Regions from separate parts of the Homo sapiens genome. Here region 2 is linked to region 1. The links are contacts of gene promoters, found by promoter capture Hi-C in human tissues and cell types (Jung and others, 2019). All regions are on one chromosome and are shown on one strand. Each heading gives the region's core, a stretch centred on a gene start or on the middle of the fragment in contact. The rest is flanking DNA. Distances are from core to core; before and after follow the strand shown.

The links. The method cuts DNA at HindIII sites, captures the fragments that hold promoters and counts their contacts. A contact is called where the count stands out against the background at its distance.
Region 2: a fragment that was not itself captured here is called in contact with the fragment with the promoter of INPP1 in region 1 in 1 of the 25 tissues and cell types used here (hippocampus).

The regions. Positions count from the first base shown.
Region 1 is chr2:190,342,103-190,345,010 of GRCh38, reverse strand. INPP1 (inositol polyphosphate-1-phosphatase) reads right to left here and starts at 1,422. Exons shown (of 7, transcript NM_001128928.2): 1 at 1,050-1,422. LOC124906109 (serine/arginine repetitive matrix protein 1) reads left to right here. Exons shown (of 1, transcript XM_047446773.1): 1 at 1-2,908. The coding sequence starts at 695. The coding sequence ends at 1,573. RefSeq lists silencers at 727-1,056, 1,127-1,436. The HindIII fragment of the contact is 3,445 bases long and covers 1-2,614 here.
Region 2 is chr2:190,872,079-190,874,986 of GRCh38, reverse strand. No RefSeq gene overlaps it. Among named protein-coding and RNA genes, the nearest start is that of GLS, 7.3 kb to the left of the region's middle. The HindIII fragment of the contact is 3,999 bases long and covers 1-2,908 here.

The sequences.
Region 1 (2,908 bases), core at 173-2,672:
CTAATTCACCAATCAAGAGTAGTTCAGTGGATTACTTTCATCCTTATACTATTATCAAGTTGAGCAGGGCTGATCCTTATCAACTTTTCTGGCTTCAAAGCTAGGAATCAGTGTAAAAGGGCTAAAAAATCTTTTACTCAACAGATGGGATCCACTTAAGTGGTCTGTCCATACTTTTAACCCACTGTTCTTTTGAAGTGAACACCATCATACAGTGGGCAAACTTCTGCTTATTCAACACTTTAAAAATACCTTTAAAATGAGAAATCTCCAAAAAACAAGCCGTGGTTTCTTATAAGTGTTTTTCACAGATGTACTAAAGTAAGCGTTTCCTTTCACACTCTTTGCGCCTAACCGTCTACATGATAGGGCCAAACCCAGGTTAAATATTTTTTTCCAGCTACCACTCTGGACACACCAACTAATTATGCACACCTCACAAAACCACCTTTCAAAATGCAGAGAGAATTAACAGCAAGGAAGTAAAGATTTTTCTAAATATAGTCCCATCATATTTATTTCACACTCATCAAGTAGGTCACTGGAGGTAGCTGGCAGCTAGGGACACTCAGATGCATCTCTCAAAGCCAAGGCTGAGACCAAGGGGTCACTGACAGCTGCGCCATCTACCTGTTGCAGCTGGGCCACTGCTCTGGACAACTGTCAGATCAGCTTCTTCGTCCTACAAATACTAATGACTGGATTTTTAAAATCGTTGTTTGCCACCCTTTCTTCCCGCCCCCCAACCCCATCGGGCCGCTCGGGCAGGGCCAAGGGCGCCGCGGGACTCACGAGCTCCCCTCCGCGCTGGCTGCAGCGGCGATGCCGGGCATGCCTGGCCGGGCCCGGCCGGGGGCGGCCTCGCTGCCGGGGCAGGGACCTCGCAGGCCGGCGCGCAGAGGCGAGGAACCCTCCCGGCGCCATCGACTCACCTACCCGCGGAGAGGCGACGGCGCGCGCCGCTCACCAGCCCGGGCCCCAGATCCAAGGAGGAGGGGCAGCGGCGCGGGGACCCTGTGGTGGGTGTCGTAAGGAGGAAAACGTGTTACCTAAGCCGGGGATGAGGACAGAGCAGGAGGCAGCAGCCTTTCCCTCGAGAAACGGAAGCGGCGGGGAGCAGGAGGAGGAGGAGGCGCGGCCCGGGCGCGAGGTTAGGCGAGGGGCGCTGGGCGTGCGGCCGCAGGCGCGGCCAGAGGACGAGGGTTGGGGAGGACGGCGGAGGTCACGCGAGCGAAGGCGAAGCCCCGGCGACGCACGGCCCCGCTTGGCTCGGCACCGGATCCGAGCTTGGCCTCAGCCAGGCCGCCGCCCCCGGCTTTCCCGCGGGACCGCGGCGTGGAAACGCGCGCTGCCGCCTCGGGGCTCCCGGGACGCGCGGGCCCCCCACGCCTGCCCGAGCCGGGCGTCCGCGACGTCACAAGTGGAGCGCGATGATTCAGAGGGAGGGCCAGGAAGGGAAGGGCTCTGGGGTCAGCTTGGCCACGGCTGCTGTTTCCTTGTCGCCGCCCACGAATTCACTTTTAAATCTTCCTCCTCCATTCATCTGTACTCTCATAGGGGACTGCGGGTTTGACAGATGGGTTGGCAGCTGTGAAGATGGACTTCCTGCCAGTGGTATCCGGGTCCCACTGTTCTAATGGAAATGTCAGGTGTACTGGATGTTCCTCAAGACACAGCAGTGTCTCTGGGCCTTGCCTCTTAAGGAGTGGGCCTCGGGCCACCTGGACAGGAAGCGCATCAAGGGTGGGGAACTTATCTCTCTCCAGCCTTTGGTGCTGTGATACTCAGTGTACCTTAAGGATGGTTTGGGTTGAACCTAGGTAGGAATGGGTGTTGGTGGGCGGGGTGGGGGTGGGGGGAATAGAAACCTTAAAAGGGCAACACAAAGTTTTGAATAGAAGAGGCCAAGCAGCCTCGCCCAGAAGCTGATGTTTGTGAATGTACTGGGCCTTCTAAAGCGGCGCTTCACACACCTTTTCACTTCTTGGCACAGGTAGGAAAGGATGATATTACAAGGGTCAAAATGGGGGTAAACAGAAGAGGCTGCTCCTGCAGAAGGCTTCCTGCAGAAGCCCTTGCACTTGGAGGGCTGGGAAGACCCATGCTGTATCTGCATCCCTGTCATTCGTTTCACGGCATCCAGTTGGGAAGCTCTGCTTAAAGCTTTGTCTGGCACGTTTTCTTAGCTACATTTTTCCACTCCAGCTGAGACTGCCTCACTGAGTTGTCAACACTTGGTCTTCTTCAGCAGTGAGGAACCAACAAGACAGGAGGCTGGGTCAATACTCAACTTGGCAAACTCCAGGAAATGGTGCTTAAAACGTTTGGCTTCTTGAATGGAATTCATGGTACTGCTCCCAGCCTGCACCTGGGTTCTCCAACTTGAGACAATTTCTCCCCGCATCCCCCCACCCTTCCCTGGCTTTCACTCACTAGCAAGTGGGCTGCTTCTACTTTCTTTCTCACATTCATTTCTTAGGTCCATTCTCAGAGCGGTTAGGATTACTGTTTAATTAGCCTCATAATCATATCTATGATGGCAAAATCAAGAAACAATTTAAACATGATTCTTAAAAGTAAGGAGATAAATACCAGAGACATAGAAGGTGAAAGAATTTGCCTCTAGGAAGCAGGAATTTAAATTTGGGGAAGACAGGGTGGAGCAAGGGATATAAATCTAGTCCATTTTTCTTTTCTTTTCTTTTCTTTTTTTTTTATTTTTAAGATAGAGTCTCACTCTGTCGCCCAGGCTGGAGTGCAGTGGCATGATCTTGGCTCACTGCAACCTCTGCCTCCTTCGTTCAAGCGATTCTCCCACCTCAGCCTCCCTAGTAACTGGGATTACAAGTGACTGCCACTATGCCCAGCTAATTTTGTATTTTTAGTAGAGACGAGGTTTCACCATGTT
Region 2 (2,908 bases), core at 117-2,616, 530 kb before region 1:
GTCTCACTCTGTGGCCAGGCTGGAGTGCAGTGGTGCGATCTCAGCTCACTGCAACCTCTGCCTGCTGGGTTCAAGCGATTCTCGTGCCTCAGCCTCCCAAGTAGTTGGGATTACAGGCACATGCCACCACACCCAGCTAATTTTTGTATTTTTGGTAGAGACAGGGTTTCACCATGTTGGGCAGAATGGTCTCGATCTCCTGACCTCATGATCCGCCCACCTTGGCCTCCCAAAGTGTTGGGATTACAGGCAGGAGCCACCGCGCCCAGCCAGTACAATGTATTTTGAAAACTCTGTAGAAACAACCTAAATGTTTATCAGTAGAAGAATGGATTAACATAACATGGCACACATTATGTAATGCACATTATTTAAAACTAATGATCCCTAGTTTCCTATATTAAGTGAATAAGTCTCAAAAACAATGTCGAAGGGGTAAAAGTTACATATGGGTGTATATATATTATACTACCTTGATTTTTTTTTTTTTTTTTTTGAGACGGAGTCTTGCTCTGTCACCCAGTCTGGAGGGCAATGGTGCAATCTCGGCTCACTGCAACCTCCGCCTCCCAAGTTCAAGCAATTCTCCTGCCTCAGTCTCCCAAGTAGCTGGAACTACAGGTGCCTGCCACCATGCCTGGCTAATTTTTGTATTTTTAGTAGAGACAGTGTTTCACCATGTTGGCCGGGCTGGTCTCGATCTCTTGACCTCGTGATCCACCTGCCTTGGCCTCCCAAAGTGCTGAGATTACAGGCATGAGCCACTGTGCCCGGCCTTATAATACTATGATGTTAAAACATGCAAAACAATATATTATTTATAGATTTATACAGATTTTGTTTAAATGTTTAAAACATGCACAGGAATGGCAAACATCAAATTCAGTATAGTGATTATTGTTTCTAAATATGTAATGGAGAATGGCATTGAAGAGTTGTACACAGAGAGTGAAAACTGTATCTGTAATGATTAACTTCATTTTGTTTGTTTTTTTGTTTGATAGAGTTTCACTGTTGTTGCCCAGGCTGGAGTGCAATGGCATGATCTCGGCTCACCACAACCTCCGCTTCCTGGGTTCAAGTGATTCTCCTGCCTCAGCCTCCCAAGCAGCTGGGATTACAGGCGCATGCCACCATGCCCCACTAATTTTTGTATTTTAGTAGAGATGGGATTTCACCATGTTGGCCAGGCTGATCTCAAATTCCTGACCTTGTGATCCACCCACCTCAGCTTCCCAAAGTGCTGGGATTACAGGCATGAGCCACTGCGCCCGGCATGATTAATTTCTTAATAATTTTAAAAATCTGAAGCAAACAGGCAAATATGGTTTGTTATGTTCCCTTTTCTGTGTATTTGAAATATTTTGTGATAAAAGAAAATAAGCTTGGCCGGGCACAGTGGCTGACGCCTGTCATCCCAACACTTCAGGATGCCAAAGCGGGCAGATCACGAGGTCAGGAGTTTGAGATCAGCCTGACCAACATGGTGAAATCCCGTCTCTACTAAAAATACAAAAATTAGTTGGGTGTGGTGGTGTGCGCCTGTAGTCCCAGGTACTTGGGAGGCTGAGGGAGGAGAATTGCTTGAATCCGGAAGGCGGAGGTTGCAGTGAGCCGAGATTGCGCCGTTGTACTCCAGCCTGGGCAACAGAGCGAGACTCTGTCTCAAAAAAAGAAAATAAGCTTTATTTCAATGTTGAAACCCATTACAGCCCTCTAACAATTATTATATGTGTAGAAAATATTACAAATTCTATGATACATTTTAATGGCTCCTTTTAAACTTAATTTCGCCTAACCAATGCTGACTGATATAACTAGTAAGCAATACAGCTACCCTGTAAATTATTTTTCAAAAGGACAATCAAGAGTTACTACCCCTGAAATAAAGGTTTTATTAAAGATAAGAATGACATATTTGACAGAAAAACATTAAAATTATATTTTTTTACTATCTCAGAGATAAATATGAAAGCAATTACTTTACTAATAACATATGAATAAGAAATATATTCTTCCTTCCTTTGATGTTAAAGAGGCTATTTATGTTTGTAACATTTCTGTTGGAGACAGGTGTTGATATGGTTTGGCTGTGTCCCCACTCAAATCTCATCTTGAATTCCCATGTGTTGTGGGAGGGACCTGGTGGCAAGTAATTGAATCATGGGGGCAGGTTTTTCCTGTGCTGTTCTCCTGATAGTGAATCCGTCTCATGAGATCTGATGGTTTTAAAAAGGGGAATTTCCCCACACAAGCTCTCTTCTCTTGTCTGCTACCATGTGAGATGTGCCTTTTACCTTCCGCCATGATTGTGGGGCCTCCCCAGCCGCGTGGAACTGTAAGTCCATTAAACTTCTTTCTTTTGTAAATTGCCCAGTCTCAGGTATGTCTTTATCAGCAACATGAAAATGGACTAATACAGGTATCAATTGCTAAATGTTATGGCTAGAGATATTATAAGTTAATAAGGTCACATGGCTAATTAATAATAGAGTTGCTGAAAACATACCCTTCAGCTAGATCTGGCACTTATCCTCATTTCTTTTGAACCATCAGTGAAATGCCCACCCAAAGACTCTGCTGTGGCTTGAATGTCCTTGACAAAACTCACATTGCAATTTAATTGGCCAGGCGTGGTGGCTCACACCTGTAATCTCAGCACTTTGGGAGACTGAGGAAGGCAGATCATTTGAGGTCAGGAGTTTGGACCAGCCTGGGCAACATGGTGAAACCTAGTCTCTACTAAAAAAAAAAAAATTAGCCAGGTATGGTGGCACATGCCTGTGGCATGTGGTGTGGTGGCACATGCCTGTAGCATGGTGGTATGGTGGCACATGCCGGTAGCATGTGGTATGGTGGCCTGTAGCATGGTGGTATATGCCAGGTATGGTGGCACATGCCTCCTGAG